Regions from separate parts of the Homo sapiens genome. Here regions 1, 2, 3, 5, 6 and 7 are each linked to region 4. The links are contacts of gene promoters, found by promoter capture Hi-C in blood cells and fetal thymus (Javierre and others, 2016). All regions are on one chromosome and are shown on one strand. Each heading gives the region's core, a stretch centred on a gene start or on the middle of the fragment in contact. The rest is flanking DNA. Distances are from core to core; before and after follow the strand shown. Region 1 overlaps TMEM72-AS1 (TMEM72 antisense RNA 1). Region 2 overlaps TMEM72 (transmembrane protein 72). Region 3 overlaps TMEM72-AS1 (TMEM72 antisense RNA 1). Region 4 holds the start of ZNF32 (zinc finger protein 32). Region 5 overlaps TMEM72-AS1 (TMEM72 antisense RNA 1). Region 6 overlaps TMEM72 (transmembrane protein 72). Region 7 overlaps RASSF4 (Ras association domain family member 4).

The links. The method cuts DNA at HindIII sites, captures the fragments that hold promoters and counts their contacts. A CHiCAGO score of 5 or more calls a contact.
Region 1: a fragment that was not itself captured here is called in contact with the fragment with the promoter of ZNF32 in region 4 in 1 of 17 cell types (M2 macrophages); the score reaches 5.7 in M2 macrophages.
Region 2: a fragment that was not itself captured here is called in contact with the fragment with the promoter of ZNF32 in region 4 in 1 of 17 cell types (total B cells); the score reaches 6.6 in total B cells.
Region 3: a fragment that was not itself captured here is called in contact with the fragment with the promoter of ZNF32 in region 4 in 12 of 17 cell types (total B cells, endothelial precursors, neutrophils and 9 more); the score reaches 11.7 in total B cells.
Region 5: a contact is called between a fragment that was not itself captured here and the fragment with the promoter of ZNF32 in region 4, in 5 of 17 cell types (naive B cells, total CD4 T cells, total B cells and 2 more). The highest score is 7.1, in naive B cells.
Region 6: a contact is called between a fragment that was not itself captured here and the fragment with the promoter of ZNF32 in region 4, in 6 of 17 cell types (fetal thymus, M1 macrophages, M2 macrophages and 3 more). The highest score is 7.7, in fetal thymus.
Region 7: a contact is called between a fragment that was not itself captured here and the fragment with the promoter of ZNF32 in region 4, in 1 of 17 cell types (naive B cells). The highest score is 5.9, in naive B cells.

What each region holds. Positions count from the first base shown.
Region 1 is chr10:44,888,118-44,891,506 of GRCh38, reverse strand. All of the region lies in intron 2 of TMEM72-AS1 (TMEM72 antisense RNA 1), which reads left to right. Among named protein-coding and RNA genes, the nearest start is that of TMEM72, 22 kb to the left of the region's middle. The HindIII fragment of the contact is 5,924 bases long and covers 1-3,389 here.
Region 2 is chr10:44,929,558-44,932,635 of GRCh38, reverse strand. TMEM72 (transmembrane protein 72) reads right to left here. Exons shown (of 5, transcript NM_001123376.3): 3 at 567-638. All of the region lies in intron 1 of TMEM72-AS1 (TMEM72 antisense RNA 1), which reads left to right. Among named protein-coding and RNA genes, the nearest start is that of TMEM72, 20 kb to the right of the region's middle. RefSeq lists an enhancer at 1-276. The HindIII fragment of the contact is 2,956 bases long and covers 1-2,851 here.
Region 3 is chr10:44,867,821-44,871,029 of GRCh38, reverse strand. The region is part of intron 2 of TMEM72-AS1 (TMEM72 antisense RNA 1); the gene reads left to right. Among named protein-coding and RNA genes, the nearest start is that of TMEM72, 42 kb to the left of the region's middle. The HindIII fragment of the contact is 1,038 bases long and covers 1,441-2,478 here.
Region 4 is chr10:43,647,092-43,650,434 of GRCh38, reverse strand. ZNF32 (zinc finger protein 32) reads left to right here and starts at 1,554. Exons shown (of 3, transcript NM_006973.3): 1 at 1,554-1,633. The region is part of intron 1 of ZNF32-AS3 (ZNF32 antisense RNA 3); the gene reads right to left. ZNF32-AS2 (ZNF32 antisense RNA 2) reads right to left here. Exons shown (of 3, transcript NR_047558.1): 2 at 3,226-3,323; 3 at 2,416-2,866. RefSeq lists a silencer at 1,529-2,048. The HindIII fragment of the contact is 4,172 bases long and covers 1-2,389 here.
Region 5 is chr10:44,947,644-44,950,965 of GRCh38, reverse strand. All of the region lies in intron 1 of TMEM72-AS1 (TMEM72 antisense RNA 1), which reads left to right. Among named protein-coding and RNA genes, the nearest start is that of TMEM72-AS1, 10 kb to the left of the region's middle. RefSeq lists an enhancer at 2,895-3,134. The HindIII fragment of the contact is 2,624 bases long and covers 1-2,588 here.
Region 6 is chr10:44,912,101-44,915,476 of GRCh38, reverse strand. The region is part of intron 1 of TMEM72 (transmembrane protein 72); the gene reads right to left. All of the region lies in intron 2 of TMEM72-AS1 (TMEM72 antisense RNA 1), which reads left to right. Among named protein-coding and RNA genes, the nearest start is that of TMEM72, 2.5 kb to the right of the region's middle. The HindIII fragment of the contact is 2,829 bases long and covers 162-2,990 here.
Region 7 is chr10:44,986,954-44,990,371 of GRCh38, reverse strand. It overlaps RASSF4 (Ras association domain family member 4), which reads right to left. Exons shown (of 11, transcript NM_032023.4): 7 at 997-1,098; 8 at 651-702. Among named protein-coding and RNA genes, the nearest start is that of DEPP1, 9.9 kb to the right of the region's middle. The HindIII fragment of the contact is 6,881 bases long and covers 1-3,418 here.

The DNA of each region.
Region 1 (3,389 bases), core at 33-2,532, 1.2 Mb before region 4:
TGAATGGCACACTTTGTGTGAGGCTGGCCCCAGAGCTAGTAAGGAGCAGGCCCAGAACACTGCCTGGTCCTCCTGCTCTGGCTCTGTATTCTCCAATGCCTCAGGCTGCCTAGAGGGCGAGCAGGAACCGCATACACATGAAGGCCCTTCCTACCACAAACCAGGGAAAATGGCCTCTGAACAGCTGCACTTGGACAACAGGCCTCTGCCTTGGGGTCACCCCATTTTCTTAGCTTGAACTCCTCCCAGCCTCCCACTCCACCCTACTTAGACCTTGTCCCAGTGCTGGCAGGTGTGCCCACACAGGTGTGGCCTCTTCTCCTGTCTCCTCACCTCTGCACCGAGGCATATTCTGCTTCCCCAGTCCTGGGTCAGAGTGGGAAGCTGACCTCATCCCTCCCAGGGTGGCCAAGAGCCAGTAGCTGGCGGGGCACACTTCATAGGGAGGTAGAGCCTGACCCCAGGCTCAACCCTCACCTGTGCAGCCTTCTCCTCCCACATCCTCCTCCCAGGGGGGCCTGTGCCTGGGGTCACCATTGCATCTCCACTTCTCCCCACCCTGGCACAGTGTGCCTGTCTGGTCTGCGCTGGCCACAGATCCAGAGGCTCCTTGCTGAACCTGCAATTGCTGCCCTGGTGGACCCAGTTACACCCCTGCTTTCTGGGTGTGGTGTGGAAAAGGCCAGGAAGATTGATGAGTGGAAGAGAAGGAAGAGGGAAGGAGAGGCCTGTCTCCCACCACACCCATCCTTTTATGAAGTCAGGCTCTCAGAGTGACAGGGAGTGACAGGCTTGTAAAACTGTAAAAACTACTGGGCACAGACATGATCTGCTAGCTAAGCATGTGAGCATCTGTCCTCCAATCTCTTCTTAGCCTGCACCCTGTATTCAAGTTCATGGGCACCATCAGTTTCTTCTGCTTCAGAACAGCCTAAAGCGGCTCATCTCTTCTCAGTCCTGGTCCTTGCTTTAAGCCTTCTGAGGCTTCTAAATTGGCTGATACCATTGGCATCTGCCTGTATCTCAGGCTTAAAACCTCAGGGCCAGCATTTGCTTCTAGTTTTCCTCTAGTGCTTCCCAGTTCAACAGAAGCCCTGCCCTTTCCACCTCCCTGGCTACCACCCTATCGGCTGCTGGGGCCCCAGGGTCTGCCTATTTATCCTCTGATGCGGTGCCATCGACTGCTGGCTGACTGTCTGCCACACGACAGCCAGGGGGTGGCTCAAAAACACAGAATAACCATGTTATTCCCCAGTGTAAGATTTCAACAGCTTTCTAGTTCCCCTGCAGGTCATGTAGGCAGCCCTCATGAAGCTCTGGGACAATAGTGTGCTGGCAGGTAAGTATTTAACAAAAACTGTCCAGGGAAAAAGCCCTTACCTATAGCATTTGCCAATTTCTGTGGTATAAATACTCCTACTGTGGCTGATTTCAAGCCACCCACATGATGTCACTGAGTGCAGGGCTGGGAAGAGATGCCTAGAATCACAATGTTAGACAGCATCTCCCCTGTGTAGTGCAATAGACACTAAATGACCAAGAGCAGAGATAAGAGGAAAACGTAGTCAAATAATTAGGATGTGATGAGTTTGGGGTACTTATTACACTTTATCTAATTTATTTAATTGAAAATAACTTAATGATGGCTTTGTTTAACATCCAGCTCTAAAAATAGCTGAAAATTTAACCATCAGCTCTCACAAGCTAGCACAAGTCAACTGCAGTGCATAACTGCCTGTGACCAAGTTTGTCTCCGTTTTGACTGGGGGTATAGCGAAGGGCCATGGGTTTGGGAGTCCAGCCGAGTCAGCTTGCACATGGACTCTTCTCTGCTTTCCAGTGACCAAGTCCAGCATGGTAGGTCTTGTCCTACTCTAGTTTCTTGAGCAGAATCTCAGGTCCTCCATAAAGTGGTCCTGTCTTGCAGTTCTCAGTTTCTTTCAACTTCAGGAGTCTGTTTACTCCCATATGTGTTTGTGATATAGTTGCAGCAGCCAGAACCAGGCCCTGCCATGGCCTCTGCAGGGTACACAGGCCATGCCCTCCATGTGGCTCTGCTTTCCCTGACCACCCATCTCATTGGCACCATCATTCTCGCAGAGCTGGAAGGCAGAAGCTCTGTCCTGTAATCAGTGTGGTGGGGTGAGCTGGACAGCCTGTGGCCTGGGCTCTGTGTCTGCAGCCCTCTTGCTGTGCTGAATGCACACTGTTGGATGTCACTTGATGGTTCCCTAGAATAAATTAGTGGAGTTAGACTTCTTCCTGCAGAGGAAAATGTATTAGAAACAAAATCAAAGCCCAATCAAACAAAAGAAGCTCTGAGCTTGCACATCAGGTGTATTGTCTCCTGGGAATGCAGGAAGTTGGAAAAGTCCAGGAAGATTAATGAGTGAAAGAGAAGGAAGAGGGAAGGAGAGCCCTGTCTCCCACCACGCCCATCCTTTTATGAGGTCAGGCTCTCAGAGAACTGCTGCTTTTGCTTATGGAGTCAGAACAAGCCCTAGCGACCTTCACACCTGCCTAAGGAGCTCAAGTAGAGTCCACCCTCTGAATCGAGATCACTTCTTTTTCTCCCATGGAGGGGCTTGTGCACGCTTGGTAAAGCCATCCTCAGATTGGGATCCACAGTGAAGTGAGTGCTAGAGGCACAATCCAGAGCCTGAGAACCTGGAGGACAGGCCATCCTGGACACCAGCATGGAGTCAGCTATCCATGGAATTGAGATACAAAGCATCACACACCCAACACTTCATCTCTAATTCTTGCATGCTTTTCATTTGTGGAACCAGAGTGCAGATGGATTTGAAAAGCCCTGGACTCTGGTAAAATGCCATTTGAAATTGTTATATGGTTTTCCATTAGGAGAAGTCCAAGGAATTGGTAAGACTTATGGTGGACATTGTACAGATCATTGCATAATAATTTTTCTTTGCAATTAATTAATCTTCATCTCTGATATTCACTTCAAATATGTGATGATAAAACGGGAAGGGACCCTTGCTTGGGCAAAAACAACAACATAGCTTCTCTTGAAGACTGCTTATAGCAATGGTGCCAGCACAAGGTTTAATGTGAACTGACCTGGTCCTTGGGCCAGGATTCTGGGTCCTTGGTGTATTCCTCAGTCCTCCCGAAGGGCTTCTGACTACCCAGGAGAACTGGTAGGCCCTTTGCAATCTACCCAGACATTCTCCTGGCCCTCTGTATCTTGTCTCTTTGTCTGCCCACCAGCGTGAGCATCCCAGCACCCATGAGCCCTTCCCTGACCACCCCAATAGACGTGGCCATTTATCTTCAATGCTGCCAGAAAATCTCATCCATTTGCTATGGTTGCCCTTATCTCATTGTAATCATCATCATTGTCTCATTGTAACCACTAATATTTCTTT
Region 2 (3,078 bases), core at 124-2,623, 1.3 Mb before region 4:
TGTCTAGGTTCTGAGAGCCGCAGTCCTCGGTCTCACCGATAACAGCTTCCACATACTGAGTGTAGGCTGGGAAGCAGCAAGGGCCTCACGAGATCCTGCAGGGTCTGCACTCCTGCCCCACGAAGGGGTGTAGAGACATACTGCCCCTGACTTGCCCCCGGGCCCTAGGAAGAGACAGAGCCAGTTCCCAAACCCAGGTCTGCTCACTCCCAGCTGGGCCTTCTGCAGGGTCCTCACCCCATGGCAGATGGCTCAGACACTGGGGCCCAGTGACTGGCTGCTCCTGGTGAGGGGGAGCTGGACTTTTCTGGGGATTCTGGGCAAGGACAGGCCCTGAATGACTGTGTCAGTTGGTTCTCTTGGTTGGGACCAGGGCAAAGAAGGCAATGGAGCCCCTTGGGCCTGTGCCCACCTCCAGGCCAGGCTGATTGTACCTCGGTGGGGGGCTCCTGTCCACAGTGGCTTCAGGAGCAGGACATCCCCTGGTTGTGGGCTCTTGGGTGGAGACATCTGTGGTGTCTGGGGCTGGGGTGGACAATGGAGGGGTCTCTCTGGAAACTACTTACTGGAAGCAGATGGCCAGCAGCTGAGCCACAAAGTAGGCCCCTTCACATATGGAGACAGCGGCTCCTGTAAACCTGCAGGTGGAGACAGGTGAGGGAGGCTGGCGCCTCTGTCTTCCTTTGCTTTCCTGAGGGCTGTCTTCTCACACGTGGCCTCCTGACATCACATCTACAGCCAATGGACTCACCTGGATTCCCCCAGACAACATTCACCACGGGCTGTCTCCAGGACATGGCGTGTTCCGGACTGGGCCATGCTGGGGAGAGGTGGGGTCTGGGGTTCAGAGATGGGTGGGGAGGGCACCGTGGCCAGCAGGTGACATGGCCTTCACCTGGCACCCTGTGTGACACTGGCAGGCACATCCTTCTACCTGCTGGTCACCAGGATGGACACCCACTGCCTGTGTTCCAGCCTTAAACCTGGACCTGTTCCTGACCCTTTCCTTCTTCCTTTTCCTATTATCCAAATAGTCACCAGGAGCTGTTGATTACATTCCTTCAATACCTTCCAAATCGCTCCTGTTCTCTGACCTCATGGGCATTGCCTGGGTTCAGGCCCTGCCCCCTGGACCCCTGCACCAGTTCCACTTCCTCACTTACCCCAGGCCTGTCTCCTGCTCCCCCACTGTGTCACTCTGGGCTGCCTGACACCTGAATCTGATCATGTTCCTCCTGATACAGGATGCCTCAAAGGCTCCTTGTGCTCCCAGTGTGGTCCATGGATCCTGCAATCAGCATCTCCTGAGGAATGTGTAGAATTCATGGCTCCCAGGCCACCCCTAGACTCACATCAGAATCCTTGGAAATGGAATATGTACTTACGGAGGGTCTCACTGCCTATCCTCCATGTTCCCTTGACAACACAAGAAGCTATCAGGTGCCACAGGGCTTTTGCACAAGTGAGCTTTTCCTGGAAGGCCTTCCCCTTCCCTCTCCAGTCTGTCTGGTGACCTCCTCTTACTTCTCCATGTGGTACCATATGACCAGAGTCACTAGTCTGTGAACCCCCAGAGGGCGTTCCCTGTCTAATTCTTCTGTACAGCCCAGGCTCACAGTGGGTCGGGCTTATTGGGCTCCATTAATGAGCATTGCAATAAATGAAGGAATGAAAGTGGATAGTGTTGTGCAGAAGGTGGCTTGGGGTCAGGGTTTCCTCAGAGCCATGGGTGTTTCTAGATTGTGTGATCACAGGTGAGAGGTGTGACCTTTCTCTGTCTTAGTTTCCTCAGCTGTAAACTGGGGTTATTATAGTGCATCAACAGTAAAACTGTTCTAAGAATTAAATGATATTTGTAAAGCACTTAGGACCATGCTTGGCACACAGTGATTATATCAATTCTAGTTATCATTTCTCTCTCCCTGTGATTAGTTAGATCATTTAGTGATCTCCACTCCTCTCAGTCTCTATGCCTCCCAGTGTGAGCCTAACTCTTACCCCTTGGTTTTAAAATGATAATAACTAACATTTATGTAATGATTGCTATGGGCCAGGCATAATTCTAAAGGCCTTACAAATATCAACTCATTTAGTCCTTGCAACAATTTTATAATAAGTACTATATTATATTATAATAAACACTATAATTACTGTCAGTTTACCGATGAGGAAACTAAGGCACAGAGAGGTTTGCCCCATCACCAATGGCCCCTTATCAGTAGCAGGGGGAAGATCAGAACCTAGCACGCAGGCTCCAGAGCTTGTGTGCCTAACAGGCACATCAAGACGTGTTTTGCAAAATAATTGCCACTGCCTTTTTCTATGCCCTGGGACAGAGGGGTATATCAAGGCTTGGGGAATAAAGCGACTCATTCAGACTTCCTGTCTGGTGCTATTGAGTGGCAGGGAGGGACAGACAGGGCAGGTACTGAGTGCTGATCCTGCAGGTGTTAGAGAACAGGGCACAGCAAGGGGCAGGGGACCCCAGGCTGGACTGGACCACCCAGAGACCACATGGGCATAGGGTCCCCTCAAAACAGAGACAAAACAGGGTTCTGGGCAGAAGGCAGCCTGCATTCACCTGCCATGGCCTGACCCGAGAGTTAGGGACCCACTGGAGAGGAGGAAGGCCCGCCTGCTTCTGGATCCCAGGGCAATGGTGCACAGCGGCTAGGGACATGGTCAGTTAGACACGGAGGGTGTTCAGAACCAGGAGAAGTCACTGCCAGCCAGCAGGGGCTCCAGGCTCAGGGCACAATTGCCAGGGCAGAATGCCAGGAAGGAGTGTCAGGCATTGGGCAGGTGGAAATGGGTGGACGGTGCTTGGGCACCCAACAGAATGAGTGAAGCTTGGAGGCGAGGCCATGCTGGTGAGTTTGAAAAAGAGTCAGAAGCCTCCTGCTGTACATGAGTGGCAAGAAGTGAGGCAGAGGCCAGAATATGGCACAGGGTGTGGACCAGAGGTGGTGGAAGCTCTTGAAGGTTGTCAGAGAGATCTGTGTGTCTAGATGGCAGTGTGGAAATGGGCTCAGAGGCTGAACCGCATCTGGGAGATGGCAGGTGTGAGCCCCCAAACAC
Region 3 (3,209 bases), core at 710-3,209, 1.2 Mb before region 4:
AACATTGAAGGAAAAACTAAATCTTGGCTAAGTGAATCAAATCTTTTGTTAAGAATATATTATAATTAAGTAGGATGCCACCTAGGAATACAAGAGTGACTCATCATTGGAAAAATTGTCATAAAATCTTTTGTTAAAAATATTGCCATATTAAAAGACTACTGAAGAAAAATTACATGGCAATTAAAATTAATACAGAAATAGTACTTTATGAAATTCAACAACTTTTATGATTAAAAAAGCATAGAAAACTAGGAACAGGAGGAAATTTCCCTAACTTGGCAAAAGTTATATTCAAAAAAACCTACCACAAACCTAATATTTAATGGAGAAACATAAGACCCATTTCCTTTGAAATTACAAACAAAATAAGGATGTCCAATGCTATGGTCTGAATGTCTGAGGCCTCCCCAAATTCATATATTGAAAATTTCAAGATAATGGTATTAAAAGGTGCGGCCTTTGGAAGATGATTAGGTCATGGGGGCAGAATCCTCAGGAATGGGGTTAGGGCCTGAGACCCCCTCATCCCTTCTACTGTATGAGGACACAGTGAGACTGTGTGCAGAAAGCATGCCCTCACTAGACACCAAATATTTTAGTGTCTTGATGTTGGAATTCCCAGCCTCCAGAACTGTGAACAATAAATTTCTGTTGTTTATAAGCCACCCAATTTAGGGTATTTTTTATAGCAGCCCAAATGGACTAAGACATCCATTCTAACTGTTTCCGTTTGGCACAGTGTTTGAGGTTCTGGCCAATGTTGTAAAAAGAGGAAAAAAAAAAAGCTGGAAGAGTTGGTGTGTGAGAGAGATTCTAGCTGCTCTATTGAGGGCCAGTGACGGGCAGGGGTGAAGGCGGCGGGGATCGGACCAGACACTAAATCACTCCGGCTTGAGCTGGGTCTGTAGCTATATAGGTGGTGAGAAGTGGTTGGATTTTGGGTAAATTTTGAAGATGTGCTTGACAAATTTGTCAAAGGATTTGAAAGTGGGGAACGAGAAAAAGAGAGGGGCCAAGGGTAATTCTGTGTTTTTTTGGTTTTGTTGTGTGTGTGCTATTTTTAACTCGAGCAGTGGGAATTACTAAGATGGGGAGACAGTGGGAAGCATAGTTTGTGGGAATTTTGAAAATGCCAAGTTTGAGATCTCTACTAGATATTTAAGCAACGATGCCAAGAGGTAGAGAGGACTCTAGGGTTCAGGGAGGAGGTCTGAGCTACAGGGAGACATTTGAGGGTGGTCAGTGTAGAGATGAGATTCAGAGCTATGAAATCCAGTGAGCTCACCAAAGGAGGCGAGTTAGAGAAAAGAAGACTGAGTTTTAGGGCGCTGCCAGTTGAGAGGTTGGGGCAATGTTGGGGGAAGGAGAAAGACCATCCAGGAAAGTATGAGGAAAACTACAGGCACACGGTGTCCCAAAGGACAGGTGGAGAAAGCTTCTGTAGAGAAAACGCTCAGTGATATTTTCTGAGAGTCTGAACACGTGACAAAAGGGAGTGAATCCTTTTCTCCTTCCCTTCCTCCCTTTCTACCTCCTTCCTTCCTTCCACAAGGGTGTAAATTCCTCTGTCCCTCCCTTTCCTTCCTCCCTGCCTCTCCGTCTCCCCTCCCTCCCTCCCTTCCTCCCTCCCTCCCTCCCTCCCTTCCTTCCTTCCTTCTTTCCCTCCTTCCTTCCTGTCTTCCTTCTTTATGAATGTTTACAGCTTTGTTTAGGTATAAACAACACAGAATAAATTGCACATGTTTAAAGTGCACGATCTAAGTTCCGACATATGTCTACATCTATGAAATCACCACCACAATCACTATAGTGGCCCTATCCGTCACCCCACACATTGCCTCCTGTCCCTTCTAGTCCTCCATTCTGCCCTCCCCATTGCGTCTCTGCACATGGGGAGCCTCTCCACAAAATATCTGCTTTCCATCAGTATAGCTTAGTCTGCTCGAATTTTATATAAATAGCATCTAACAAAAACCCTTTTTTTTGTCTGGCTGCTTTCAGTCAGCATAATGATTATGACTTTTTTCCATGTTGCTTGTATCGATGGTTCATTCCTCTTTACTGCTGAGTAGCATTCCACTGAATGAATCACCACATTAGCTTATCACAAATAGTTCCTCCTATATATGCTTATAGAAGATTCATTGTTTTGTTTTGAGTGAATTTTGGTAGGTGCTGCAAAATATGAATTTAATTCATTTTGATTCATATGGATATCAAATTGTTTCCATTTGATAGACTGGAATAGACTATCTTTCCCACGTTGGATTACCTTTGCACCTTTGTCAAATCTCAGTTGCTCTTATGTGTCTGGGCCATGTGTAGCTTTTCTTATTTAGGGACATTTGTCTTTCAGAATAACTTTGTCAGTTTCTACAAACCCCCCTACTCCCTGCTTTGGGGGCTTATATGGGGACTGATCATTTCTTTTTACTGCTGAGTGGCATTTCATTGAATGAATCGCCTCAGTAAGCTTCTCACAAATAGTTCTCTCTATATTTTCTTCTAGAAGTTTCATTTTTTTTTTTTTTTTGCATTTTGGGGGCAAAGTGACATATTAGTGGTATTAGATATTCAAGTGGAGATGCCAGGAGGTAGAGAGGAATCTAGGGTACAGGGAGGGGGTCTTTTGATCTTTATATCAATTTGAGGGCAAATTGACATCTTAGTGGTATTATATTTTCTGATCCATGAATGCAACGTATCTTCCATTTTTTGAGCTCTTTAAAATTTTTTTCTGAGCAATGTTTTATGGTTTTTAGTGTACAGTTCATTCATATCATTTGTTAAATGTATCTCTAAGTATTTCATATTTTTGATGCTATTTTAAATGATACTAGATTTAAATTTTAATTTCTGATTGTCATTGCTAGTGAAAATATAAAACAATTGGTTTTTGTATATTGATCCTCTATCCTGCAACCTTATTAAACTCACTTGTTAATTCTAATATCTTTTTGTGTAGGCCACGTTGAATTTTCAATATAGAAAATCCTGTTATCTATGAATAAAGACAGTTTTACTTCTCCCTTCTAATCTCAATGCCTTTTATTTCTTTCTCTTGCTGTATTGTATTTGCTAGAAAATGTTGAAAAATGTTGAAAAGAAGTTGTAAGAGTACATAGTTTTGTCTTGTTCTTCATCTTAGGGGAAAAGCATTAAGTCTTTTAGTATTAATGGTAATGTGGACAGAAGGTTTTGTAGAG
Region 4 (3,343 bases), core at 305-2,804:
CTTCAATGTGTCCACTTTCCTGAGACGCCTTAAGGGAATTTATGCAGATCTATAAAAGTGACGATGGTCCCCCCTCACAGCCACCTTTTCCCACCAATGCTTTGTCATGTACCTTCACGGCAGGATCTGAAACTTGTCCTAGTGTCCACAGCCGGTCTTGACCTTAACAGAACCTATGTACCCTTGTGTGAAGCAGAGGCCGCAGCCTTAGGACTCTGAGCCTTGGCCTTTGCTGTGTGCCGCCCTCCACCCCTTTCTCAGACTTGGGAGGAGTGAGGAGAGGAGCCACCTGGGGCAGTTCAGGAATGGGGAGCTTCAGGACAGTTTGCACCACACACTCTGGGACTTAGCTGTGCAACACCCCGACCCCCATGTGAGGAAGGTGGTGTTTGTTTGCTCCACCAGACTGTCAGCTCCTCCCTAGGAGCACGGAGTGTGTCTTGCTCACATTCGTATCCCCAGTGTCAGCACTTAAAATGGATTCAACGGATAAATGTTGAATGAAATTCAGAAATGATGTGCAATAGTAAAAGCTAACATTTAGGAATCAACTTATTACTTACAGACACCTTTGCATATTGAGTGAAATTAAGTTGTTTGATTTAACAAATCTGTGGCTTTGGGGTAGAGAACAAGAACATAGCAAGAGGAAGCATTCTTTATTAGTCCTTCACGAAAGAGGATGGACAGACACATCTACGGAGAGGGGCTCCAGAGGCAGGGACCCAGAGATACACCCGGCCAGGCAGAACAGCTCCAGGATGTGGCCCCGATCCTGGAAAAGTGCGTTTAAAAGAGGCTTAAGGCATATCAGACAGCCTGGCCAACATGGTAAAACCTTCATCTCTACTAAAAATACAAAAAAATTAGCCAGGCATGGTGGCACAGACCTGTAGTCCCAGCTACTTGGGAGGCTGGGGCAGGAGAATCACTTGAGCCCAGAAGGCGGAGGTTGCAGTGAGGCGACACCGTGCCACTGCACTCAAGCCTGGGAGACAGAGTGAAGGAAAAAAAAAAACAGGCATTATTAGAGAGGCTTTATCTCCTACGTGTTCAAAAGCAACCATGCTCCTCCCAGTATCTCAGGACGACTGGACTGCCTGTGTTCCTGTTGCTCTTCACAGAAGCTCCATGAAAGCGGGCTTCGCTTTTGTTCATGCAGCCAGAGGCTCAACACATGACCTCGAAGCCGCCAAGGCTTTATCAAACGGATTTCTCCCAAAAACTTCGTTTCCTTCCGCGACGCCCTGCAAGAACCCTGTATTCCTGAGTCCCTGGCTCAGCGTCTGCTACCCCGATGCTGTCAATCAGATCCTGCTAATCTGAGCGGCCGTGGCTCCGTCCCGGCTCCGCGTCCGCTGACAGGTCACCGCTGTGAGTCTCCGGATTACCAGTCCAAACGGGACGGCTTGAGGTCCCCGCGCCCTAGGGACCTGCGGGGCCCGAGCGCAGGGCGCGCCAGAGAACTACATTTCCCACAGAGCTCTTGGGAAGCCGGGGCCGCCGAGACCCACGGCCCGGCGGGCGGGCTCGCGGGGAGACTCCTGGGAGTTGTAGTCCATTCCGCCGGCGCCGGCGCTGGCGCTGCTGCGGGCTCGGCGCCGGCCTTTGTCTGCGGGCACGCGCCGCTGCGGTGAGTGAGGCCGCTGGCCGGGTCAGAGCGCCGGGGCAAGGCGGGGCTGCGCCATCAGACCGCTGTCCCGGGCCCTCCGTGTGGCCGCCTTATGCCAGCGGCCGCCAAGGAAATGAGCAGGCCTGGCCGGCCCGGGCCCCGAGGGAGGCCAGCCGCGAGCGGAGAGGTCGGCGGTCCGCAGAGCAGGGTCCCGTGGACCGGAGAGCGGGATGCCGAGGTTCAGGACGCAGGGCGGGCCCGGTGCCCGGGGCCCGGGGCCTGAGGCGGGAGGGCAGCGTCTGCGGAGAGGAGCAGGGCCCATGGCGTCGGGGCGTGGGAGGGGGAGGCCGCGGCAGGCTCACCCGGCCTCCGTGCGGGCTTCAGCGAGTGCGGGAAGCCGGTGCCGGCCTTCCGGGGTGGGAGGAGAGGCAGCCCCTGCGGGGGAGAGTAGGAAGCCAGGCAGCGTGTGGGAAACCACGCTACCCACAAGCTCCTAAACCTGAAACTGGCCCCAGGACATTTTCCAGACCGCCAAGTGTACCCCTCTTCTCATCCGCCCTCCAGAGGACGCCGGATTTTAGATCTTAAGTCTGGTGGTCTCGTCTGATACTCCTCTTGTTTGGTTCTTTCCTTCTCATTGTCCTACCTGATAGGACAGTGTTAGTAACCTGTTTAATAAGTGGGGAAGCAGAGTCAGGGCTGCTGGGTTACTCGCCCAAGATCATATCCTGGGGGAGCCACGGCAAGAAGCCAAGACTCACGGACTACTTCTAAGCTTTTTCCAAAGGATATAGTAGCCTTTCTAATAGGAAAATCAATGTTTTTAATTATAAAGCCACTTTTACAAAATCTTGGGGAAACTGCTTCCTCAGACCTGTGATCTAGGGAGAAAAATATGACAATTTCTCCCTTACTAATCACGGAGGTCCCTGATAGGCGGCGGAGTTGTAACTTGAAGACCTCACAGCAGGTGGAGAGGCAGAGCTGTGAATTCTACTCTAATTTCTGGAATCCCCGGCGACAGAGTCCAACCCCAGGCAGCAGGCGCCATGTACCCCAGGGACTTTTAATGTGTGTGCAGCTGTTGAGCAAGAATACCTTGAACTTCCAAATGATGTGCTGGCATGCTGGTAGGGAATTCCTTTGCAGCTTGTGTTCCAAGTTGGAAGTGAGTCCTCCAAATAAAAATTTAAATGATTCTCCTGGTCATCACAGCATGTAGCAGAATGTGCAGTTGTCAAGAAGAACCAGGTGCTTAGGTTGACAAAACAAAGAATGGTAGCATCATACTATTATTTCATTAAATCAGAAGGCCAGCATTTTGATAGGACAAATTAGAGGGAAACAAGGAGTATGCATTGAACCACTGCATTTCTTAAAAGTATAAGAATTCAGTAATTAGGATCCTGAAGTAAGAAGAAATATTTTTTTTAAAAAATAGATCATGTGGGCCAGGTGTAGTAGCTCATGCCTACATGTCTTGGGAGGCCGAGGCAGGAGGGTCACTTCAGGCCAAGAGTTGGAGACCAGCCTGGGCAGGATAATGAGACCCGATCTCTACAAAAAAAAGTTAAAATAATTTTTAAAAATTAGCCAGGCTTGGTGGTGCTTACCTGTAGTCCTAGTTATTTGGGAGGCTGAAGTGGGAGGATCCGTTGAGTCCAGGAGTTCAAAGTCACAGCAAGCTGTAATTGAGTCACTGTACTCCAGCCTGGGCAACAGAGCAAAATC
Region 5 (3,322 bases), core at 27-2,526, 1.3 Mb before region 4:
CTAGGGTGCAGGCACCTTGGGAAGGGTGGACCACTGTGACTAACCCAATGCAGGACATGGCTGGCCAAGGGGAGGAAGGTACATGAGCCAGGACAATTCAAGCTCCATCAGAAAACGGGGTCAATAGTATCCCCTGGGAGAAGCCGTGCAATGCCTGCCACAACCCTGCAGAGTCCCAGCAGCTGAGGGGGTCTATTCCAGGGGCGAGATCACGGCCTGCAATGTGTGAGCTGGGTCTCAAGAGGGAGAGAGGGAACAGGCTGGAGAGATGGAAGTCTGGGAGAGCAGCTCCTCGGGAGAGCACCATGCATGAGGAGTGAGGCTTGGGGCAGCTGGGAGAGGACCTAGAGATGGGGAGAGAGAGAAGGAGTGTGGCCAGGAGCACAGGGGGCCACTCAGGCCAGAGAAGTGGGAACTGAAAATGCTCTGGTGAAGGGGAGAGCAGCAGCTGGGCCTGAGACCAGAAAAGCCCCCATGGGCTGCTGGAGGCTCGGGGAGGTGGCAGTGAGCTCTGGGCTCAGGGCACAAGAGGCTTTTGGAGGCTGGGTGCTGGCTGGACTCTGTTTGCCAGCCTTCTCTGTAAGTCCCAGGCATTAGAGCACAGCAAGCAGGAATAACAGGAGCCCTGGGCCCTTAGAAGGAAACTGAGGAGAAGCCTGGATGTCCATGCTGTGTTCCTGAGTTTTAAGGTGACATTTTCTTGGCCACTTTTTATCTGCATGGTGTTGGGGAGACCCTGCTGAGGCTAGGGTTCTTGTTCTGGTCTTGGAGGTGGCACGGCTGGGGCCTGGAGGGAGAGCTTGGCACAGCTCCCAGGCTCTGCTGGGGCCCAGCTCCGCTCAGGAATTATCAGTCACTCAGAGAAAACTCAAAGGGCACTAGGCCTCCAGCAGTCAGCAGCAGTCACAACCAAAGTGGGGAGTGGCTCCATTTGCCTTCTCCACCTGAGCTAGTGCTCCCCTTTCTCATGCTTCCTTTATCCCCCACATTGATGAGCCACTTTTTCCTCCTCTTCATCTGCACTGCCACACCCCACCCCGAACACTTAGCATCCCAGGTGACTTAGCTGGAGGGAACCTGCTATGGACTGAATTGTATTCCCCTAAATTTATATGTAGAAGCTCTAATCCCCAGTGTGATGGCGTTAGGAGGTAGGGCCTTTGCAGGGTGATTGGATCATTTGCATGGAACCCTCTTGCATAGGATTAGTGCTTCTGTAAGCAGAGACATAAGAGAGATGACTTCTTTCCTCCACGTGAGACTATAGCAAACAGGCAGCTCTCTGTGACCCAGGAAGCCAGCCCTCCCTAGAACCTGACCATGCTGGCACCCTGATCTTGGACTTCTAGCCTCCCCTCCAGAACTTCGAGGAATAAATGTTTGTTGTTTGAGCCACCCAGTGTATGGTATTTGTTATGGCAGCCCAAACTGAGTGAAACAGAACCTTAGGGGTTACCTGGTCAAAACCCCCCTTGTTCAGATGATGAGAGGAGAGAGGCCCAGGCCATCAGGCAGGTGAGGTCTGTGGCCAGCCTCAGACTTTAGTTTCCTGATGGCATTAAGAATCTCTGCTCTGAGCCTGGAATGAATACAGGCTCTACCTGTTTTTAGCTGTGTGCAAATTACCACGCACTGTGGTTTCCCATCTATAGAATGGGGCTGTAAGGGACCTGGCCTCACAGGCTCTGGGGATTAGAGGAGATGGAGCAGGCAAAGCACTGAATCCACTGAGGTCTCAGTGCTCTCAGTGATTATCATCATTGTTGTTGATACGCCTGCTTGCCTTATATTCTTTTTACTGCACAAACGCCTTGTTACATATGGAAAATAAATCCACCTGCTTCAGACTCTGATGGACTTGGCCATGCTTCCTTTGTCCCAAGATAGACAATGATGTGCATGATAAGATTCCAGCTCTGCTTCCGAAGCTCAACTCAAATCTACCTTCCCAGACTTCCCTCTGCCTGACTTCCTCTCTCATAGCATACTGTTTGTGATTTTACTGTAGTGCCATGTCTGCCTCATGTCAGTCACACATTTGGCTTGTCTAGAGAGCACACAGCATGCCAGACTCACTCCTTCAGCCCAGCACCTTGTGTGATGCCTGGTCCACACAGTAGGTGCTTAGTAAATGTTTGCTGAGTTAAACCGACTTTTGCCCTTAGCAACCTATTCTCTAAGTTTATGCTGGTGCTGTTGGTTTAAAAGAAAGGAACATGTTTCAATGTGGAAAGAGGAACTCAAGACTTGGGGCCTGCAAATACCTCATCCAGTTTCCTGGAAGCTGGAAACTGAAGCTATAGTGGGCTGGTGGCATCCTCACCCCTGGCGGAGCGTGTGCAGCCTCAGGTAGAAGCACCTATTTAGGGACAAATGAATAATCAAAGGCATGGCCCATTTGCTTTACTCTTTATCTGCTCTTTAAAGGGAAATTTGATTTGAAACTCACAGAGTCTTCCATATCAATGAGGTGGTAAACATCTGCTTGGATGGGCTTTTGCTCCTGCCCCAGTTATTCCCAGTACAACCTTCTGTGGTTCTGATGCTCCCCATTTCCTCCAGATCCCTGTCCTGAGACTATGCAAGCTTTCCAGAAGCTCATACTGTAAAAAGAATTGCACAGCATATGTTTAGACTCAGTGCTGGATTTTCCTTGGGCTTGCTCTTAAGTTTGGGCAAATGCCCCCTGGTAATGTGCACAGCTGGGCATCCCTGAGGCTTGGAGCTGGCAGGACCTTTTGGGATGGCCTTATCCCTTGGGTTTCATGTGGGGAATGACCCAAGACTCCAAATCCCAGCAGAGTCAAGTGGGACCATACTCCTGGACTCCTGACTTCCTGGATGCTGCTATTCTTTCTATGCAGCTGTCTCACCCTTGTCATAATGGGAAACTCAGGGCATAACATTCCACTTAACTGCAACTTGGCTTCTCGAAATACCTCTTCTCTTCTGTGCAAAGATCATGACTCGGTTCTTCCTTCTTCTGTGGACCGTAACAAGCCATTCAGCCAGTCAAGCAAGTCCCATGGGAAATCCCCATTTTGGCCAACAGAGACAGTTCCTCTTTATCTCCCAAGAACACTACCCTTTTGCTCCCCTTTCCAGGTAGTCAAACAGCTGACTGTTCATCAGCAGGCTAGCAGCTGAGCCCGGGGCTTTGAGGGACAGATGACAGCTGGATGGCTGACCAGCTTGCAGAGAAAGCTTGAAATCTTGGGCACACAGGGAATGGAGCAAGAGATTTTCCCATTTGGACATACCAAAGGATAAGTTCTCTTTGAGAGATTGGTGAGGAGTGAGATGGGGTAGAATTCCAGGAAAA
Region 6 (3,376 bases), core at 327-2,826, 1.3 Mb before region 4:
TGTCTTCTTGCTTCCTGGTGTGAGACCCTGAGCAAGATGCTTCGCTCCATCAGGCCTCGGTTTCCCTTCCTGTACAGTGGGTATGAGGATGAACATGATGATGCTCCCAATGACAGGAGGATGAAATGCGATACTGCATTTAAAATACACAGTGCAAAGCTTGGGCTTTGAGTATTATTTGAGTAAATACTCAAATAATCATGTTCATTCTCAGCAACCTCTGCTCTGGGCAGAGGCTGGAAGAGTGAAATTCAGCCCTGGAGATGGGGCAGTGGGGCCTCAAGCTGGAGCCTCTTTGCTCTGAGGGAAATTGGGAGGCCTTGCTCAAGTGCCCAGAGACATTTTCTGAGCAAGCCTCTTATGGGGAAGCCCATGCACATCTGTGTGTGAGGACACAGCCTGAGGGGAGGGCTTTCACTACAAGGCGGGGCTCAGGGACATGTCTCCCCTTCCCTCCATGCCCAGCCTGGACGGCCTGAGAGGTGCCTCCTCTGTCCCACAAAGGGGGCTCTTCCCATGCTCTTCCTGGCCACCTCAGCAGGGGCTGGGGAGTGGCAAAGGAGTTATTCAAGATTCCCCTGAGGTTAAAGGGTAAGAGGATGGCTGAAGTTCAAAGGGAAGCCAACCCTGCTTTCCTAGCCTGCAACTGGGACCAATGCTGTGGGACAGGTCCTTTCTCATCTCACAGGGGAGGAGTGCCCTGGACCGCTGTGCTCCAGGCTCAGTTAAATCCATTTCCCAGGACCCCTTTCCTGCCATTTGGTCTGTGCTGAGAACCTGTCACAGGGCTGAGCCTCCTCTGGGGCCTGAGTCTCACACTCAGGACATCTTTACCCTGTCTCTAGTGGACACGGGGAGAACCTGCTTTGAGGGATGGACAGGCAGGAGCTCCGGCATCCGCACAGGGGAATGTGGAGTGCTCACAGCCTGTGTGCCATTTCCCAGCTGTGTCTGCTTCCATGGGCGGCAATGGATGCCGCGTCTCAGCAACTGAGGCACTTAGACATCACACGGGCGCATGCATGCACATGGACCCATGGGCGCCTGCCCCCCAACCCCACATCCTGAGCCAGGGAGGTGAAGCAAATGAACCCGGTGTAAACAATGCGGGAGTGGTCTGTTATGTCCTGGAAACCACATGACTGCTCCAGAGGGAGGGAATTTTCTAATTTTAGAAACACTTCCACCCAGGTGCAACTACCTGAGGCCTGTTTATCCCAATTTGGTGGTGGCAATGATCCGTCTGTGCTCTACAACCCCTCATGATATGGGGCTGGACACTGAGGTGGGGCAAGAATGGTCTGCGGGACTTCGAGGAATCCTAAGGAGGCTTCATCCAAAGGCTGTGGCTTCATCCACAGTCATAGGGCCTTGACATGCTGGCAGAGGCACCCACCAGGTGCCGTCAGTGCTTTTGACAGCCCTGATCCTGTCTGCAGGGGGTCCAGGGAAGAGGCTGCTAATGAGAGGCTGTAGCCTCTTAGCAGCTGCCTGGTCCCTGCAGGTGACACTCTGAGTGCCCTTGGGTCACATGTCTTCCTAGCTTTTAAGAAATCCACACTCCCCACCTCCCTAGGGTTTCTGCAAAGTGAGGCCCTCTATTTCCGGTCTTATTTCCTCTCTAGCAGCAGTGCCCTTGTAAATGAAGCCTGGATTTCTCAACAGAAGATTTCAACAAAAGAGAGGCTTAGGAGAATAAGGAATTTGCAAATCCTATGTACTGGAAATAGGCCAGGAGTTCAGTGATGCTGGAAGAAACTCGAGATTTGCCCAAGAACACCAAACCCCTCTCTCTAGCCTCCCACTCCCTCCCAGCACTCTAGAAAGCCCGAGCAAGATCATTTGAAAGCCTGGCCATTAGAAGGGAGCTCATGGCTATTTTTAGTCTGAATCTCCTATCAAAACCAAGAGGGAGGCCCATTCTCAGCATTAACAGCAGTCCCTGTGCGGAGATAAAGGCTGTGGTTAAGACGAGCCCTATGTGCGCGCGCACGGGTTTGTGTGTGTGTGTGTGTGTGTGTGTGCGTGCACATGGGAGTGTCAGGGGCTGCAGACTCTTCCGGTGACTGAGATAAATCAGACTGTTAAACTGTCTCTAGCTAATCCATTAGAAGGATAGGTACATACATCTTAGAACAGCCTCTCGACGGGAGGTGGGCCTCAGCTCTGGGTGGAGTGTGGCTGGGGGAACTGTGGGATTCTTGGCATTTTACAGATTTGGAAACCAAAGCCTAGAGGGAGCAGGGTGGACTCAGATCAACAGACATGGAAACCTATTTAGGGTGGCCTTCCTCTCCCCAGGATGGCTTTTTTGCTTGTTGGGGGTCTTGGCCATCATTCTCTTATGTGTAGACGACAACGTGGTTCTGAAAGTGGCTGGATCTGGCTCCTCCCTCAGTGCCTCCACTCAGAGCCTCAGCAGAGCAATTCTGAACCTCTTCCTGCTGCCTACTCTGGAAGACAGGGAAGGTTTTGGCCAGAGCCCTGGCCTTTGTGAAAGTTGAAGGACCAGGGCTCCGGGCTGGCTGTCCCTCTGACCATGACCTTGGGCAAGGTCACCACCTGCATTTGAGCTCAGGTGCCCCATCCTGTAGCAGGAGGGGTGGGGTTAAACCATCCAGCAGCCCTTCATGATCTAACTCATGGCCTAGATGCTGGAAGAGCCCACTGGCCAGCTCACGGCTGAACCCAGCCCAGTGCTCCTGAAATGACCCAGCTTCCCATTGAGCTCTGGAGTGTGTCATGGGGGCTTCTGCTGAGAGGTTTTCATCCTCAGTTCCACTTAGCCATGCTCAGTTCCTGCATCCTTAATCTGTCCAAACACCTGGCCAGCAGGTCCCCATCATACAGATCAGAAAGTGCAGCCTCAGAGGGGTCAGGGGCTCCCCAAGGTCATATATCACGCAAGTGACTAGGCTGGGGCAGGAACAAGCACTATGTGATTTTGACCTAGGAGAACTTTCCCATTTGGTAAGACCCGTGGGTAAGCTTTTGCCCAGTGGTGGGGAAGGGCTTTGATAGGGGGTGTGTCTCTCTTTGTCCCCAAGGGACAATGTGGCTCAGAGTTAAGGGCTCAGAATTCTGCCTGTTCATTTCCCCAAAACAGATCCTGGCTCTGTAGGGGGAATGGGGCTAAGGGTCAGGCCTGCCCTGGGGAAGCGAGCAGGCAGGGCTCAGGATGGTGGCTCTGGGCTCTGCTCTAACAGTCTGCCCTCCTGTCCAGTTGAGCAGCCCTGTGATTCTGCTGGGTGAAGGAAGGAGCCCAGCATCTCTGGGAAGCATCTCTGCTGCTAAGACCACAGTGCATTCCTGCAGTCAGACCTCAGACAGGGGTCTGGGTTCCTACAGGGTGTTCTGTTAACAGGGTCCAGCATGG
Region 7 (3,418 bases), core at 240-2,739, 1.3 Mb before region 4:
TCCAAAGGGCATGCATGATGCAAGTGTTAACAAACTTCTGTTTGTTCTTCTCCTTAATCTGTCTTTTGTTAATCTAAATACAGGGCCCCAGCCAGTGAACCTAAATGGGTAGAAAGAGAAGATAATTTTCCTCCCCTACAGTGTCATTCAGCAAAGGTGCAGCTTGAAGAGAAACAAGATCTGAGGGGTGGGAGAAAGGAAAGCTGAGACGGGAGGGCCAGGGCCTGATGCACTGCGACACGCACCCCACCCTTCCTGACTCGGCGCCAAGGAGCTAGGTACCCACCCATCCATTTCTCTGGAAGAGGCGGAGAGGGAGGCTTCCTATAGCTTGGTGGGATTCTCCTTCAGAATCCTGAAAGAATTAAACTTAATGTACTGAGCGACCTAGAAAATCCAAGGACATTTTAATGTGCTTTAAATTCGAAGCCAAAAGTATGTTTTCTTTTCCTCAAGGCTTCCATAGTGTGCCTGGGTTTGGGTGGGGGAGAAATGTTCATGCTGGGAGGCACAGTGTGCCCTAGCCCACTAGGCAAGCCAGCACGGAGCCCATCTGGAAGGGAGTACAGTCAGTGGTTGGTGGGGAGGGGGCTTGCTGAACAGGTAGAGACCTTTTGCTTTTACGATCCAGAAGTGGGGCAGGTACTTACCCCCAGACTCGTGAACGATGTAGAGTGCGAACTCACTGGGGCCATCTTCCACCTGCACAGGCAGTCACAGGAAGTCAGATCACGGTGCTTGGAGATGGGAGAGAACTGAGAGGGTCCCCTGACAGTAACTACACCCCCAGTAACACACACGCAAGTTGCAAGGAACCTGTCCTCTCCCAACCTCCTCTTGCTTGAAATCCGAGAAACCAAAGCTCAGCAGAGGGACCCTTGCTAGACCTTCTGCCCAGGCAGCTTCTGCCACGGGCAGCTTTCCCCAGAACCCCACCCCCAACAGAATAGCAGACCACTGGCATCCTGGGGCAAGGCTGCTCCTGACCAGGCTTACCCTAAATTTGTTCAGCAGCAGGGTGAGCACCTGCAGGGTTGTCATGGTGCTGTTGACCCTCACATTGGTCACGGATCCATAGGCTGGAGTAAACACGGAGGTCTGTACCAGGAAGGGAGAGAAGTTCAGGTCAGGCCCAGAGGGGACAAGGGACTGACATCACAACGGTGAACAGACCAAGGCAGCAGGTGACGCTGAGATCTGGGAACACCTGCACCTGTCCATTCACGCTGATGCACACATAAGCTGTTCCCAGACCTGGGAGACACTCCGGGAAGCTGTAGTAGTGCACTCCTTCCAGAGGCCTAAGGAAGATGTCTACACACCCAGAAGGGCCAGCTCTCTGGACCCGAGGAACCAGGGCCATGGAAGTCATTCACAAGGGTGGGGGAATCAGTCTCTCCATCACTCTTTCTATTGATTAAGTCACCAGTTGTCTGTTGATTCTAAGGCTGAAAGTTACCCAATCTGTCTCCTCCTCTTCATTCTCCCAGCAGTGCCTAGTAGAGGCACTGATCACACCATATCAGCTTCCCAGCTTGTTCCCTTCTGGTCTCAGTCCCTCTAATCCGTAGTCTGCACCGCTGCCTACAGGAACGGACTTCTAAAACCCTTGCACCTCCAAGTGACGTCTAGCCCAGCTGCATCCATACAGTCTCGGCTCCCTTCCCTACCCTGCTCCATACCATCTGAATCAGAGTCTGCGTCTGTAGAACACAAGGCGAAGCGATCTGTGCAGTTCAATGTGAGAAGCACTGTTTGAAAGCGCGGGTCTAAAAGTATCTGAAGGCTTCCTGGGGACTGTGCAATAACATCTGTAGTTCTTCTCATTGTCTCGCACGTATGACACTATGGTTGCCTAACAAGCACCATGTGCTCCAGTCACAGAGCTTCTTCACAATTTGGCTGGGGGGTGGGGGGACACATTATATTTTTGCAGGTATCTTGCCTTTGCCTAAGAGACACCATATATGAAATCAACCAGGACTCTGCCTGACACATAATAGGTCCGTCCTCAATAAACCCTAGCTGTGTATTGAACCCGCTAAGATTTTACATACAATCATTGATTTAATATTCATAACAACCCTTTGAGGCAGCTATAACTAGTCCCCTTTTCTTAGAAAGGAATCAGAGGCTTTAGGAGGTTAACCAGCTTGTTCAGAGTTACCCACCTAGAAAAGACAGAGCCCTGACTCAAAGGATTCCATGATTCCTGAAAACCTACATGTTACCCCCCTGGTGCTGGTGCCTCCCAGCGAATGTGACTCCTCTGCAGGTGAACCTCTCCTTGCTTTTCAAACTCAAGTTTAGATTCGCATATTCCTCCTCTGAGATCCTAGCTCTGTTTTCCCAAGGAGGTAGCTAAGGCTCAGAGAGCTCAAGGACCTATTCAGTATCCCCGCTCTGATAAGTCCAGGCACACCTGGGAGCCATTGTGAGTTCAGGTCCAGACCATCACAATGAAGCGAATATCTCAATAAAGTGAGTCACACAAATGTTTTGGTTTCCCAGGGCATATACAAGATATGTTTATACTATACTGTAGTTTCTTAAGGGTGAGACAGTACTACATCTAAAAAATATGCATGCCTTAATTAAAACTACTTTATTGCTAAAAAATCTGACACAGAGACACAAAGTGAGCACATAGTGTTGGAAAACGGCACCGATAGACTTGTTCAACACAAGGTTGCCACACACCTTCAATTTGCAGAAACCGCAGGTGCAGCAAAAAAAAAAAAAAAAGTGCACATTTTTGCAAATGGAAGGTTGCTGAACAGCAACCTTCCATTTGCAAAAATCTGCAAGGTACAGTAACAAGAAGCACAATAAAATGAAGCACGCTGTGCCAGAGTCAGACTCAACCTCGACCTGCTTCCCCCAGCTCGATTCTAGTTGAGGTGCAGAATGACTGAGTTATACAGAAAGCCAGGATTAGGATTAGGCTTTCTTGTCCAAAGAAATATGGAAGAGAGGGCCAGGTGCAGTGGCTTACGCCTGTAATCCCAGCACTTTGGTAGGCAAAGGCGGGCGGATCACGAGGTCAGGAGTTCAAGACCAGTCTGGCCAATATGGTGAAACCCTGTCTCTACAAAAAATACAAAAATTAGCCAGGCATCGTGGTGCGCACCTGTAGTCCCAGCTACTCAGGAAGCAGAAGAATCGCTTGAACCTAGGAGGTGGAGGTTGCAGTGAGCCCAGATCGTGCCACTGCACTCCAGCCTGGCTACAGAGTGAGACTCCATCTCAAATAAAAAAAGAAACATGAAACAGAGGAGTTAGGCTATTTCAAAGGGACAAAAAGTCTTGTTAACAAGACACTGTGTTTCTTCTGCACGAAGCCTTTTCTCAAGATGATACCAACCAACTCCAAGTAGGAACAAAGGCCCCCTGGCTACTTTCTTATCTCTAACCACAA